Regions from separate parts of the Homo sapiens genome. Here region 2 is linked to region 1. The links are contacts of gene promoters, found by promoter capture Hi-C in human tissues and cell types (Jung and others, 2019). All regions are on one chromosome and are shown on one strand. The core of a region is centred on a gene start or on the middle of the fragment in contact, and the rest is flanking DNA. Distances in the headings are between cores, read along the strand shown.

The links. The method cuts DNA at HindIII sites, captures the fragments that hold promoters and counts their contacts. A contact is called where the count stands out against the background at its distance.
Region 2: a contact is called between a fragment that was not itself captured here and the fragment with the promoter of PODXL in region 1, in 1 of the 25 tissues and cell types used here (dorsolateral prefrontal cortex).

The regions. Positions count from the first base shown.
Region 1 is chr7:131,552,252-131,559,818 of GRCh38, reverse strand. It overlaps PODXL (podocalyxin like), which reads left to right and starts at 3,191. Exons shown (of 9, transcript NM_001018111.3): 1 at 3,191-3,559. The coding sequence starts at 3,460. RefSeq lists enhancers at 2,256-2,803, 7,102-7,567 and silencers at 2,771-2,890, 2,921-2,980, 3,061-3,570. The HindIII fragment of the contact is 6,040 bases long and covers 1,383-7,422 here.
Region 2 is chr7:131,043,007-131,050,573 of GRCh38, reverse strand. The region is part of intron 3 of LINC-PINT (long intergenic non-protein coding RNA, p53 induced transcript); the gene reads left to right. Among named protein-coding and RNA genes, the nearest start is that of LINC-PINT, 63 kb to the left of the region's middle. RefSeq lists a cis regulatory region at 5,868 and an enhancer at 5,796-5,940. The HindIII fragment of the contact is 6,752 bases long and covers 377-7,128 here.

The DNA of each region.
Region 1 (7,567 bases), core at 1,942-4,441:
AGATGGAGTCTTGCTCTGTTGCCCAGGCTGCAGTGCAGTGGTGCAATCTCAGCTCACTGCAGCCTACACCTCCCAGGTTCAAGCAATTCTCCTGCCTCAGCCTCCTGAGTAGCTAGGATTACAGACGCATGCCACCAAGCCTGGCTAATTTTTGTATTTTTAGTAGAGATGGGGTTTCACCATGTTGGCCAGGCTGGTCTCAAACTCCTGACTTCAGGTGATCTGCCCACCTCAGCCTCCCAAAGTTGTGGGATTACAGGCATGAGTCACCGTGCCTGGCTGGGGAGACAGATTTGAATTCACTCCTGTCTCTTTGCTGACCAGTTTTGCAAATAAAGCCGCTGCTTTTTCCAAAGCTAGTGCTTCATAGTATTGGCTTCTGTGCCCATGGGGCAGCAAAACCATTTGCTTGATAAAAATGCGGTGGCTCTCGCCAGTAATCCCAGCACTTTGGGAGGCCGAGGCGGGCAGATCACCTGAGGTCGGGAGTTCGAGACCAGCCTGACCAACATGGAGAAACCCCGTCTCTACTAAAAATACAAAATTAGCCGGGTGTGGTGGCAGATGCCTGTAATCCTAGCTACTTAGGAGGCTGAGGCAGGAGAATTGCTTGAACCTGGGAGGCGGAGGCAGCCTGGGCAACAGGAGCAAGACTCTGTCTCAAAAAAAAAAAAAAAAAAAAAAAAGTGATGTGCTGTTCTTGGTGGTCTGAGTAAGTAAAGGATGAATAAGAAAGACGCCATGTTAAAGAAGCTGAATGTCTGCTAGGAGAGCTAACGCATGTATACAAATAACCAAAATGCAACAAATCCCAGAAGGAATGATCCTGCAGAAACTTCCTGATGAAAAGCTTCAAAAACAGCACCCATAAAGTGCTTTGGGTTTCAAATATAAGCTCAGGTGTTCTGGGCTGGCGAGCTTGCTAGTTAGAGCACAATGCTAAATGGGGCCAAAGGCACAGGCCAGTTACCTGGGGGTAGCTCATCTCAGTGGCCACCAGTGACCTCAAAACCCAGCCAGCCTCATTCCAGAAAGCCACGTTGTGCATAAGTTGAGGGGGGCTGTTGGATACTGGGGAGAGTCCAGCACAATTGTAACTTTTCTATGTCTTCTCTAAGCCCAGATGTCTGCTCTCATTTTAATTTTGCATGATCTTGTAATGGCACCAATCCCAAATCATGTGAATTTAAAATGCCCTAAGCTTCAAAATATACGCTCTCTCTTTATAAAGTTAACATGATTGCTTCTGAGTTTTTAGATAAATTGAATGATTGAGTGCAAAAACACTGTTTAAATCAGAGTGCGATACACATTTTTTAAAATCCCAGTGTAAAAAAAAATATATATATATATTGCTTGGTTTCAGAAGAGAAACAAGCCTTTTGTTGACATGATATCAGGGGAACAGTACTAAAAAAACATCAAAGATAGTCACACACACAAATATCCCAGAGTATTCATAGGGAACACCCTCTGTCTTTCCCATATGCGGTGTGGAAAACGGGGCCAGAACGATCCTGCAGAAACTTCCTGATGAAAACAACCCCGTCAGCCCTTCCCAAGCTTGAGGCCGGCTGCCACGGAACCCCAGCCAGGGCTCCAGCGCTTCCTTCGCGGCTCCAGGGACGCAGTGCCCTGCAGGCATCGCCTGCTTGCAGCCGACTTGAGGGGCTCACGGAGTCCCCTGTGCCCGGGACGCGGCTAGATCCTGGAGAAAACCCCTCCACCCAGCCCCATCTGGCAGATAGACTCCAGATTAGCAACCCCGGAGTCACGTGAGCCAAATTTACGCCGTACCCGGGTTCCAAGGTTAATCACCCCTCGCCCCCTCCGCTTCCCGGCTCCGCCGATGTGCCTCCTCTTCAGGCGGGCCTGGGGTCTGCGTCTCCCAGGCAGCTTTGGGGGTGGAAAAAAGGAGGGGAGCGGGGGAGGGGAAAGGAACTTCTTTGTTCTTTCACCGGATAAACTCAGTTTACGGAATTCTCCAACACCCACTCCCACCCCCAGTGTGCAAATATCTCTGATCCTCACTTGGAGGGCGAACTACTTCATTCATTGAGACTTTTGTGTTCCTGGCCCTAGGCTAAGTATTATCTTGTAAGATCACATTTAAGTTTCCCAACAACCCCCTGAGGTAGGTGTTATTATCCCTATTTTACAGATAAAAAGAAATGAGGTACTGAGAATAGCTTGCCTAGGGTTTTACAATTAATAGATTGGCACAGTTAGGTTTTGAGCCCCAGCCTGTTTTGACCCAAAAGCCCTAATCTTTATAGCTGTTCTTTATATAGCAGGAATAAGAGTAATAACCACTCCTTGCAGAGCAATTACTATATTCCAGGCACGGTGCACGGTATTTCTCCAAACTTCTCTCAGAGGCAGGTTTGCCACTTACCCGTTATGTGGCCTCAGGAAGTTTCTTAACCTCTTTTTGACTCAATTGCCCTGTCTGCAAAATGAGGCTAAAAATATGGTTGTCATGAAGAGTAAAAGAATTAATATATGTAAAGCCTGGCACACATTCATCCCTGAAATTGTTGTTGCTGTTGTTTTTTAACCATCATCTCCATTTCACAGGTAAGGAACCTACCCTTGGAGAGGTGAAGGAGTGAATTAGTCCAGCTTGCCCGCTGCACACCTAGCTGCAGAGAGACCCCGCTCAGAAGCCGTGCGGGATGGGGGCCCCACAGGCAGGTGAATTGCACTTGGCAGGTGGGAGATGAGCTTCTCCGGGGTCGCTGCAGAACGCGCAGCAGCCCGGGAGGCCGTGAATGGTTATCAGTTACCACGCAAGGCTGGGGGTCCGCCCGCTCCGGATTTGCTCGTAGTGCGAGGGCCCCGGCGGTGTGCTGGGGGATCCCGCCGGGCCCACTTAGAAGCACTCGGGGGGACACACCTGTTCGGGACACCTGTGGACGGGGCCCGGCTGCACCGCAGGAGCCCCCCGCCCTGGCCCCCGCGCACACACAGCCCCCCAAGGCGCGGAGGCCGCCGGCCCTCCCGCCCGTCGCGCTCCAGGGCGGAGTTTCCTCCTCTGCTCATTGTTCACGGCCCAGCGCCCGCCCAGCCCCGGCCCCGGCCCCGCCCGGCCCGGCCGCCGCCGCTGGCGGGCTCCTGGGGGAGGGGGAGGGGCGGGGGCGGGGGCGGGGGCCGGCGCTGACGGGACGGGCCAGGAGTAGCCGCAGCCGCCAGTGGGGCCGCAGCCGCGCAGACGCCGCCCAGGACGCAGCCGCCGCCGCCGCCGCTCCTCTGCCACTGGCTCTGCGCCCCAGCCCGGCTCTGCTGCAGCGGCAGGGAGGAAGAGCCGCCGCAGCGCGACTCGGGAGCCCCGGGCCACAGCCTGGCCTCCGGAGCCACCCACAGGCCTCCCCGGGCGGCGCCCACGCTCCTACCGCCCGGACGCGCGGATCCTCCGCCGGCACCGCAGCCACCTGCTCCCGGCCCAGAGGCGACGACACGATGCGCTGCGCGCTGGCGCTCTCGGCGCTGCTGCTACTGTTGTCAACGCCGCCGCTGCTGCCGTCGTCGCCGTCGCCGTCGCCGTCGCCCTCCCAGAATGGTGAGTGGCCGGCCTGGGTTCCGCCGGGACTCCCACCGTGCCCATGTGCCCCCTGCCCGGCCGAGCTGCAGGGAAGCCCGGCGCGCCGCGTGGTCCGACCCCGAGCAGCCCTATCACCGCCGGGGTCACACACGGAGCCCTGACCTTGCACCATCCACGCCCCCTCCAAACTCCGCAGCGCGGCAGGTGCAGGGCCTGGGCGTAGATTCGTCTCCACTCTCCACTCGGGAGGAGTGGGCGGTGGATTCTGCCCGGGCAAACAGGGGCGCGCCGGTGCTAAGTGGGTTTGCATGGGAAAGAAAAGGGAGACCGCACCGCGAGGCTCCACGCTTCTGCGGGACTCTCGGGATCTGATTACACCTTTCCTTCGTGTTGGAGGGAATGAGGGGCTGTAGTGTGTATTCGTTAATTCCAGGCAAAGAGGCAGGCGAGAGGCTCCCGAGGAAGTCCCTGAAGCAGGTGACAAGCCTCCAGCCACGGCCCACGCGGGCGATGTACTTACCCGTTTGCAGAGGTTTTTTCTAAGTAATGTGTGCAGGCTCAACTCCTTGAGCCCGTGCTGGGGCAGGTACAGAGTCGTAAGTGGACCTTCCACAGTCCCAGAGTCACCTGGCTGAGTGGGGGTCCTACCTCCGTGTCCCTAAAACAATCGCTTCTTAGTGCGTGGCTACGATGGTGAGACCCCCCTCGAATCCTCTTGTTCAAACGGGAACTTGTTCAAACGGGAACTTCTCTCTCGTAGAATAGGATTGGGCTGCATTTTAGACACACCTTAGAAAATGTACCTGTCTCTCATGAAACACCTGCACCTCAGAAACATCCCCTCCCTGTTTCTTTTCAAGGTGAAATGTTACTCTTTCCCTTTTGGGGGACAGGCGATGGCTGCAAACTCAACCAGAACAGGTGTTCTTAAGCCCCTAGGGAACAGCCAGAGTCAGCTCAGCCCCACGGGAGAGGTGCATTTCTCATTCTCTTTTGCCCACCTGAGCACATGTCTGCAGGAAGAGCTGAGGTGGTGTGATCACCCTAGGGCCAGGAGGACTGCGGGGACAGCACAGACAGGGTAGGGATTCTGCTGTGAGCAGGTGCCGGCAGTTTGGGACTGGACTCTAAGGGGCCAGGGGAGATGGAAGGGCAGTACAGTCTCTCCTCTGCACCGCAGGAAACCTTTGGTAGTGGGCAGGCGCTGGCACTCAGGGAGCAGGCAGGCGTGGGCATCCTCCTGTGGCCGGCGGGAGACTCCACCAGCCTGACTAGAAAGGGAAGGTCCCGGCGGGGGGAAGAATGTGTGTCCCTGGAAGAGGGGCTGCAGTGTGAGGAACAGTCAGAACAGCTTTCAGAGTGGCAATCACTGAAGAGCCACACGACATGCAGGGTTGAGATGACACGAGAGTATGGTGGCTCCTTAGCCCTACTCTGGGGACAGCTGGACTTCAGGGTGGGCCTTCATACGAACCTTTTGTTGGGAAGCCTCTTAGAACCACCCAGAAGGGCGTTGGGCTGTGTCAGGAAAGAGGGGTTAGTCCCTAGTGCTTCTGAGCTTAAGGAAGCTGAGCCACCCTTCCTTTGAGGAGTGGGAGGCACTGTGGGACAAGACCCTCCCTGTCTGCCCTAAAAGGAAATGTTCATAAGTCACCAGTGGGCAAAGCTCTGACTCCAGCTCACTGCTGGCTTCAAGGATGGCACTGTTTTTCCTGGCACCTGGGCACTGCCAGAAACCATGTCTCTTCCATGAAGCACCACTTCTGGCCTAACACAGGGTTTGGCACATGGCAGAAGTTTGGTATGTGGCAAACAAAAATGACCATAACCCAGTGCCTGCTCTAACCAGCAAGTAACTTGGCCTATCTGAGCACTGTATGCATTATAGTATGCAGCACTGTTGGGAAGCACTTAGAAAAGTGCAAAGTGCTAAGTGGGGGATGGGGAGAGGATGATGATCATGATGGTGATGATGATTTGCATGTATTGAGGCCAGAAAAGGCTTGTGGGGGGCATGTTGCGGCAAGATTGGTCTGTTCAGTAGCTATGGTGCATTCTACACCACCCTCTAGGGACTCAGTAAGGCCAGCTCCATCCCTGTCCTTCTGAAGGTGTGGTCGCCTGGGCTGCTGTCATCGGGAATAGCATAAACACTGCCCCCCATCTGCTGGAATCCTGTGATTTGATTCAAAGCAAGAAAGATTTATAGCTCGAGTCTCTGCAACAAAGGAATTATCCCCAGACAGGTCCATCCCTGCCCCTCTCCCCCAGCTTACCTTCCAATATATGGGCAGATTATGCAGCCTACAGCAAAGAAAGCATTCACCTTAAGGGTTGGACAATTCATCAGACCCCCTTTCAGTGCTTTTTGGTTTGATAACCATCTGGCAGAACCACAATGGTAAGTCACATCTCCGTGCCTCCGTTTCGTTATTTGTGAGATAGAATAAAAGAACCAAAGGGACCTCTAGTTCCACCATGATAAGATATCTGGGGTTCCGTGTTCCCTCAGCTACTGAAAGGACAAGCTGATTCAGTACTCTCAATCTGATGTTCAATGGATGAATTCTGGGCAACAGAAAGGCAGCTTGGTGGGGTGGAAACACTCAGACTTTGGGTCAGAGAGATGTGCATGACCATGGACAAAATAGTGGACCTCCCTGAACCTCAGTTTCTTCATCTATAAAGTAATAACAGCCCTACCTTGTGGGTTGCTATGAAGATGAGCGAGTATATATATCATGGGCTTGGCTTTACGCCCAACTCAGGATCAACACTCAAAAAATAGCTATGATGATTAGTAAGCATATATATTGAGCACCTGGTGGGTTTAAGGGACCCCAGGCATTGGGATCCTGCCAATGTTTGTGGGTATCAGTGGATATATGATAATAAAAACTGAAGCCCCAGTGCCACTCTGTGGGAGAGGGAGGCATATGGAAAAGAGTATAAGATTTGGAAGGGGTGGTCTGGAGGTCTGGAGAAAGCTTCCTGAAGGAGGTGGGGTTTTCACATAGGGATTTTAAAATTAAAAGGGTCAGTGTTTCCTAATGTGGCTGAGGCTCTATGAATTGTAGTGTGTAGGGGAGATGCAGATTAGGGTCGGGGAGTCTGTGATGGTGGTTCTTGAGATGGAGTCATTGAGGCTTTGGGGAGATTAGCTCTCAGAACTGGAGAGAAAATTCCACGGTGGCAGGGTGTGGCTGCTCACGCCTGGAATCCCAGCAAATTTGAGAGGCCAAGGTGGGAGGATCACTTGAGCCTAGGAGTTCAAGACCAGCCTGGGCAACCTAGTAAGACTGTACTAAAAAGACAAAAAAATTAGCTGGGCATGGTAGTGGCACACGCCTGTAGTCCCAGCTACTCAGGAGACTGAGGTAGGAGAATTGCTTGAACGTGGGAGACAGAGGTTGCAGTGAGCCAAGATCACGCCACTGCTCTCCAGCCTGGGCAACAGAGGGAGACCCTGACTCAAGGAAAAAAACAAGGTGCCCAGGGCTGGGGTGGGGGAATGTGGGTGTTCCCAGCATGGTGCAGCTTGGGACAGGATCTGAGGCAGGAGCGAGCTGGACATGGCGGGGTTAGGAGCCCAGCCATTCAAGGGCAGACCCAAAAGCACCTGGTGTCAGTGTGGCCAGAGCTTTGGAGTGTGGTCGTCCAGAGAAGGGCTGAGGAGGGGAGCGTGGCCTGCCCAGGAGGGTCCTCAGGGTGTCCCCCAGGCCTAGAGAAGGTGGGGGAAGAGGCATGGAGGCTGTCCCCCATCTGGTTTTCCTCAGGAACCCATGTTTGAAAGGAGAGGAGGGTGCTGCCTGGGGTTTTAACACCACTGCCCTGTGGAAAGCTGAGAGGGGAAGGGGACTAGACTCCCTGTGGTTAGAATTCCCCCCCTTGCAGGGAGGGAGGGGAAGAGCCACTCCTAGCCACCCTCAGGCATCATCTCTGAGATGCCTTCCCTGGTTTCCTAGGGAGAACCAAAGTGTGTTCCATGATCTGTGTGTCTCCTCCACCATGCGGTGAGGCCCTCGA
Region 2 (7,567 bases), core at 2,503-5,002, 510 kb after region 1:
TAGGCAGAGAGGATAGCAAATGCAAAGACCTTGAGGCAGAAGCATGCCTGGCTTGTTTGAAAATAGGAGGAGGCTAGTGAATGGAGTGGAGTGAGTGAAGGGGCTGTAATCCCAGCACTTTGGGAGGCCAAGGCCAGGTGGAGCACGAGGTCAGGAGATCAAGACCATCCTGGCGAACATGGTGAAATCCCGTATCTACTCTAAAATACAAAAAATTAGCCAGGTGTGGTGGTGGGTGCCTGTAGTCCCAGCTACTCAGGAGGCTGAGGCAGGGGAATCGCTTGAACCTGGGAGGCAGAGGTTGCTGTGAGCTGAGATCGTGCCACTGTGCTCTAGCCTGGCGACAGGGCAAGACTCTGTCTCCAAAAAAAAAAAAAAAAGAGGAGATGAGAGGATATGGATGGTCATGTCATGTTGTCAGAGGCATAAAAACCAGAGCAATCCCATCTTGAGTAGGGGCTGGGTAAAATAAGGCTGAGACCTACTAGGCTGCATTCCCAAAGAGTTAGGCATTCTAAGTCACCGGATGAGATAGGAGGTCAGCACAAGATACGAGTCCTAAAGACCTTGCTAATAAAAAAGTTTGTAGTAAAGAAGCCGGCCAAAACCCACCAAAACTAAGATGGCATTGAGAGTGACCTCCGATTGTCCTCATTGCTACACTCCCACCAGCACCATGACAGTTTACAAATGCCATGACAACGTCAGGTTAGTACCCCATATAGTCTAAAAAGGGGAGGCATAAATAATCCACCCCTTGTTTAGCATATAATCAAGAAATAACCATAAAAATGGGCAACTATAGAGTAGCCATTCTTTTATTCTTTTACTTTCTGAATGAACTTACTTTCACTTTATCGACTTGCCTCAGATTCTTTCTTGCATGAGATACAAGAGTCCTCCCTTGGGGTCTGGATCAGGACCCCTTTCCCATAACAGTGTGAGCAGTGGTTATTGTATGGGTTTTGGCTTCCAGTGAGATGAAAAAGAATTGGTGGATTTTAAGGAGAGAAGCAACATGATCTTTCTAATGAAGGTAATGTGATTTGAATACTCTGGGCTAGGGGTGGGGGTGTTTGCAAGGGTAGAAGCGGAGAGACCCAGTGAGGCTACTGCAGTGACCCAGCTGCAAGATGGTGCCTGAGACCATAAGCAAGGGATGTGAGGAGAAATGACGGAATTCTAGTTATATGTTGTGAAATTAGATATGAGATGAGAGACAGAAAGGAGTGTCAGGGAAGACTCCACAGTTTGCAGCCTGAACAACTGAGAGTGGAGGTGCCTTTGCTGAGATAGGGGGGTGGATTGTGGAGGGACCGATTGGAGGCAGCACTAGGAGCTCAGTTTTAAACACATTACATTTGAGATTCCTCTTTAGATATCTAAGCAGAAAGGTCATGTAGGCAGAGTCTGGACTTCAGTGGGAGGTCAGGATTAAAAAGGCAAATTTGAAGTCATTAGCATTGAACTGTTGTTCAAAGTCATAAGAAGGATTGAGGCCACCAAGGGAGTGAGAAGAGTGGTCTGGGGCCTCTCCTGGTCCCATGGAGTCAGCAGGGCAGATTGAGGAACAGACAGGAAGGTGTAAATCGTGATACTCTAGACACCAAGGGAAGCAGTAGTAACCCACCTTGTCAGATGCTGCTGATGGGTCAGGTAAGATGCCAGCTGAAAATTGATCAGAAGATTTAGCAGTGAGGAGGATGTTAGTGATCTTGGCGAGTGGTTTCAGTGAAATGGTAGAGACAAAAGCCAGAGTGGAGCAGATTCCAGGGAGAATTGGAGGAACTGGATTGAAGAGTGAGTACAGACAGACTCTCTTTTGAGTAACTTGTGAAGTCCAGAAGAGTCAAGGAAAGTTTTGGTTTTGGTTTTTTAAGATGAGAGAAATTACATGTTTCTCCCAATGCATGTGTTAGAGAGATTTCAAGTTATTTTTCTGAAATGGCCTACTAGATTTATGACATTTAAGACCACCACCTGTGTGTGTTAGGGGTGGAGGTGTAGTGCTTCCCTCCTAAGATGATTTCATAGAATTGTGTTGTGGAAGAGGCAGAGGGGTGGGAGGGATCGGGGGAGAGACAGAGAAAGAGAGAGAATGTAGAGATTGGCATTGTATGTTAAAGGTGGCTTTTGCAATTGTTATGAAATTTGGCTGCTTCTTGCTCAGTGTCTGCATTCACATTCCGGGAATTAAAAATGTTAAGGTAACAAATGTTAAGACTAGTTCTCGTCAACTGAAAATGTTGAAAAAGCTGATGTTTGGGGTGTAATTTCTTTTCCTTACTTTTGAGGAAGTTATTGAAACATTTGAAGAAATTGAGGCAGAGACACAATACCCAAGGTCACACAAAATGAAATATTGCCAGAATAAGTGGATTTTAGATCTGATTTCCTAGCTATGTGGAACACTTAATCCCTCTGTGTTCAGTTCCAGCAGGTATAAAATGAGGGTAATATTTGCTTTACCTGCCACAGGAGGTTTTTATGAGGATCAGATGAACTAGTAGGTGCAGGGGCTTAGTCAACTATAAAGCATTGTATTATATAAATATGAAGTAATGTTAAAACTAAATTATACTTGAGGATTTTGTGGTAGCATGTGAAATAACTGGAAAAAGTATAATGTAACAAAATCTGGGCTGAGAATATTTGTAATACATACTCATACTAATAGAACTGCAAGAATTTGCTTTTTGCCTGTGTCAGACTTTGTTAATGACACCACAGAATCGATTGTGTTTTGAGTTTTGTGGCCAAGTCACAGCTGAGGTCCAAGCAATCAACCAGTTTATCTTCTAGGAGTCTCAAAGTTACTGAACTGGCTATTTTGGTACTTTAATATAATGTTAGCTTGCTGGTACTATGTGGAAGAGCCACTCTCTTAATATAAAATATTCACGTTCTGATGATAAATTTTCTATCAAACTTTGAGAGCATTTCTATATTTGATACTTGGAGTTGAATTATAGTCATACTTCATTTTTGTATTATCGTCATACTTTATGCTGTGGAAAACTGAGGAATTAAAAATGAGTAGCCAAGATCATTTCCCTTAATGGTGATGTGAAGAGGATAGGTGATTCTCTTTCTGAATAAAACAAGCGTAAAACTGGATGAGATTGTCCAAAATGGTCGTTTCTGGGCACTGGAAACAAAAGGCAGATAATAGATTGAGAAGCGTTATTGATACACTGAATCTTTGGGTATGAAGGATAGGGGTTGTGGCCTTCTCGCATGGGGTTTCTTCTCTCCTTGCCCACTATCTCAGTTGTCGAACTGCTGTTTTATCAGACATGATAGACTCAATTTGAAGTGTGGGTAAAGGTTGGGGTTAAGAAATCACAGCTTTGCTAGCTAAAAGTGGCATAATCAGTTAATAATGAAAAACTCACAGCTTTGCTACTTTGAGTTTGAAGTTTGCTAGTTTGAGGCCACCATCCAGAAATTTAACAAGGAGATCCTAGAAATGAGAGACCTATAGAGGGCTAACATGGCTCCCCAACCATCTGTAGCAGACAGCTAAACTTTGCATGCCCAGGGGATACTCAGTAGAGCCCAGCAAAAAGTGAAAGCCAGAAGAGACTTGAGATCTGGGTACAACTTTGAATGCTACCTTCCATGCAGACTGTTCCATCTGCAGATGTTGGAAGCCTTACTGGTGCAAGGTGGCTGGGCTTAATCTCTGCCCAAATCCACTGGCTGACCACTAAACTAAGCAGCCACTCACTCATTAGGGAAATGCAAATTAAAGCCATAACAACAACCACCAGAATGGCTAAAATTAAAAAGACTGACAATCCAAGTGTTGACAAGGATATGCGGAAACCAGAATCCTCTCAAATTGCTGGTGGGAATATAAAACAGTATGGCCATGATGGAAAACAGTTTGGCAGTTTCTTAAAAAGTTCAATATACACTTAATGTGTAACTCAGCAATTCTATTTCCAAGGTATGCTGTCAGGAAAAATGACAGCATGTGTCCAGGCAAAGTTGGTATATGATGTTCATAGTGTCACCCAGCAAGCAATCAATGGGCCTGCTTCCCAAGGCACATGGAGGCCAATACCATGGCGCTGGCTTTTGAGGAAAAATAAGCTTTATCATGACTGGACTGGCAAGGAGCCAGGAAGAAGCACCCAAATCTGCCTCCTGGAGCTGGTAGTTGGGTAGAGTTTTATAAGCATAGGGTAATAGGGTGTGATCCAATTGGATCTTGTGATGAAGTGATGCTGGGGGGTGTTTTCTGACTGGCTCCTGACATGGGGCTATGCCAGAGCTCAATCTGGTTGGATTCTGGATCCTGTTATGCCATATCCACTTTTTTTTTTTTTTTTTTTTTTTTGAGATAGAGTCTCACTCTTGTCACCCAGGCTGGAGTGCAGTGGTGCAATCTCAGCTCACTGCAACCTCCGCCTCCTGGGTTCAAGTGATTCTCCTGCCTCAGCCTCCCAAGTAGCTGGGATTACAGGCGCCTACCACCATGCCCAGTATTTGTATTTTTAGTAAAGATGGGGTTTTGCCATGTTGGCCAGGCTGGTCTCAAACTCCTGACCTCAGGTGATCTGCCCGCCTCGGCCTCCCAGAGTTCTGGGATTACAGGCATGAGCCACCACACCCGGCTTCCACTTCTTAGTTCAGTCCCCTCTCCTTGGTTGGAACATTTAGGTTGCCCCTATAGTTGCATGCTTGGTTCATCTGGACATGCTCAGCTTACATGATGTTCAACCTGGGGGCCCATGGCAACTGAAAAACAACTCACAACTTTGTTACAGAAGAGATGAACCAGATTGGTCTGACGTGGTTAAAACAGCAGCTTTAGCTGTGATTGAAAACTGGAACTAATTTATGTGTCTGTCAGCAGATGAATGGATAAGCAAATTGTGGTATATCTATAGAATGGAATAATACTCAGTAATGAAAAGGAATGGACTATTGATACATACAGTGACATGTATGCATTGCAAAATAATAACATGCTGTGTGAAAGAAGCCAGACACCTTTTCCTACAAAACAGAATACTGATTCCATTTAGGTGAAATTCTAGAAAATGCAAGCTAATCTGTAGTGACAGTAGATCAGTGCCTGCAGATCAGAGGATGGCTTGGGAGAGGAGGGAGAAAGGGATTCCAAAGGAAAGAGCACAATGAAACGTTTGGGGGTGATGTATATATTCATTATTTGATTATGTCTAATGATTTCATGGGTGTATACATATGTCAAAACTCATTGTATATTTAAATATGTGCAATTTATTGTATATCAAGAGTAACTCAGTAAAGTTATAAAAACTAAAACTATGCCCATTCAAAAAGCAAACAGATGTTCATAGTACCATTATTCACAGTAGACAAAAACTGGAAACAATCCAAATCCATCAACCGGTGAATAGATAAACAAAATTTGGTATGTCCATATCAGCCATGAAAAGGAATAAAATTCTGATTCATGCCACGGGTACATACTACAATATGGTTGAACCTCAGAAACATTATGCCAAGTGAAAGGGCTCTGTATTGTATGATACCATGATATGAAACTTTTAGAACAGGCAAAACCTTAGATCAGATCAGTACTTTGCCTGGGTGTAGGGTGGCAGCATGGAGATTGGTTTTAAACAGGCACAGCGGAACAGTTTGGGTGATGGAAATGTTCCTGGTGATAGTTGTGTATAAATTGTATGAAAACGTGTGCAATTGTGTACTTAAAATGGATAATTTTCAAGACATGCAAATTATACCTCAAGAAAGCCACTAAACGTGGGTGGCCACTCAAAATTTCAAATTCTCTTTAAGATGACCATTCAGGTCAGGCATGGTGGCTCACTCCTGTAATCCCAGCACTTTGGGAGGCCAAGGCAGGCAGAGCACGAGGTCAGGAGATCGAGACCATCTTGGCTAACACGGTGAAACCCCATCTCTACTAAAAGTACAAAACGTTAGATGGGCGTGGTGGCGGGCACGGTGGTGGGCGCCTGTAGAGGCAGGAGAGAATGGCGTGAACCCGGGAGGCAGAGCTTGCAGTGAGCCAAGATCACGCCACTGCACTCTAGCCTGGGTGACAGAGCAAGACTCCAAAAAAAAAAAAAAAAAAATTTCCATTCAAGGAATTGAACTATAGTACTGACTTCATTGTAACATACTGCTTTGGAATACTTTGGTGAGGTTCACTGAATTCATGTTCTATGCCAAATGCTTTTTGGATTCTAATTGTAAGTTAGTTATTTGTAAATTAGTTACATTGTAAAATAATTTAAATTAAATCGTAAAAAGAGTTACTTGTTTTTCCCAGAATTTAGTGACCAGGAATAGCTGTATTTCCCTTGCATATCATTTGTCAAATGATTGGTTTTATGTTAAATAGTTATTAACACCCCCCTCCCCACTGGAAAACATGTTTTTTGGATTAATATTCAATTTGTGTAAAGTAGTTCAAATTTATGGTGGTGGGTTATCCTTCAATTTTTAATTTAATTTTTTTTTTTTTGAGACAAGTTTCACTCTTGTTGCCCAGGTAAAGTGCAATGGCGCGATCTCAGCTCACCGCAGCCTCCGCCTCCCGGGTTCAAGCGATTCTCCTGTCTCAGCCTGTGGAGTAGCTGGGATTACAGGCATGCGCCACCATGCCTGGCTAACTTTGTGTTTTTAGTAGAGACAGGGTTTCTCCATGTTGGTCGGGCTGGTCTCAAACTCCCGACCTCAGGTGATTTCCCCACCTTGGCCTCCCAAAGTGCTGGGATTACAGGCGTGAGCCACCATGCCCGGCCTATTTTATTTTTTGAGACAGAGTCTCGCTCTGTTGCCCAGGCTGGATGGAGTGAAGTGGCGTGATCTCAGCCCACTACAGCCTCCGCCTCCCGGGTTCAAGCAATTCTCCTGCCTCAGCCTCCCAAGTAGCTGGGACTACAGGCATGTACCACCATGCCTGGCTTTTTTTTTTTTTTTTTTTGGATTTTTAGTAGAGATGGGGTTTCACCATGTCAGCCAGGCTCGTCTCGAACACCTGACCTCAAATGAGCTGCCCTCCTCGGCCTCCCAAAGTGCTGGGATTATAGGCGTGAGCCACCGTGCCTGGCCCTATCCTTCACCTTTTAGTTCTTTAGGAAGGAAATTGATGGTGGCTTAATACCTTTGCTTCTAGGCCTGGGTGTCCACCCACCTGACCCCAACTCCCATATATGTAGAGACATCAGGTAATCTGAGCATAAGATCCTTGCAGTGGTTGGGGAAGTGAAGCAGAGAGATGCCCTCTTGGAGCACTTCCATTTTCTGCACCAGACAGGAATCAGTTATCTCTGGGGTTAGTGACCTCACACCTTTGCCCCTGAATCCCCCCATATATAAAATAGAAGATTGAATTTTACTTACTTGGGTAAAAGTGGGCATTTTTCAGTTAGACATTTACCTAATTTTAATGAAAATACAATGACCCTAGAACATCCTGCCCATGATTCTGCCCAAGTTTATGCAAACAGAAAAAATTTATTTTGGAAAAAACCGGATCTTAAACTGAAATTCATTAAGCCATTTTTCCAAATAAAGTACCAGCTTAGTTAACCAAATTGTG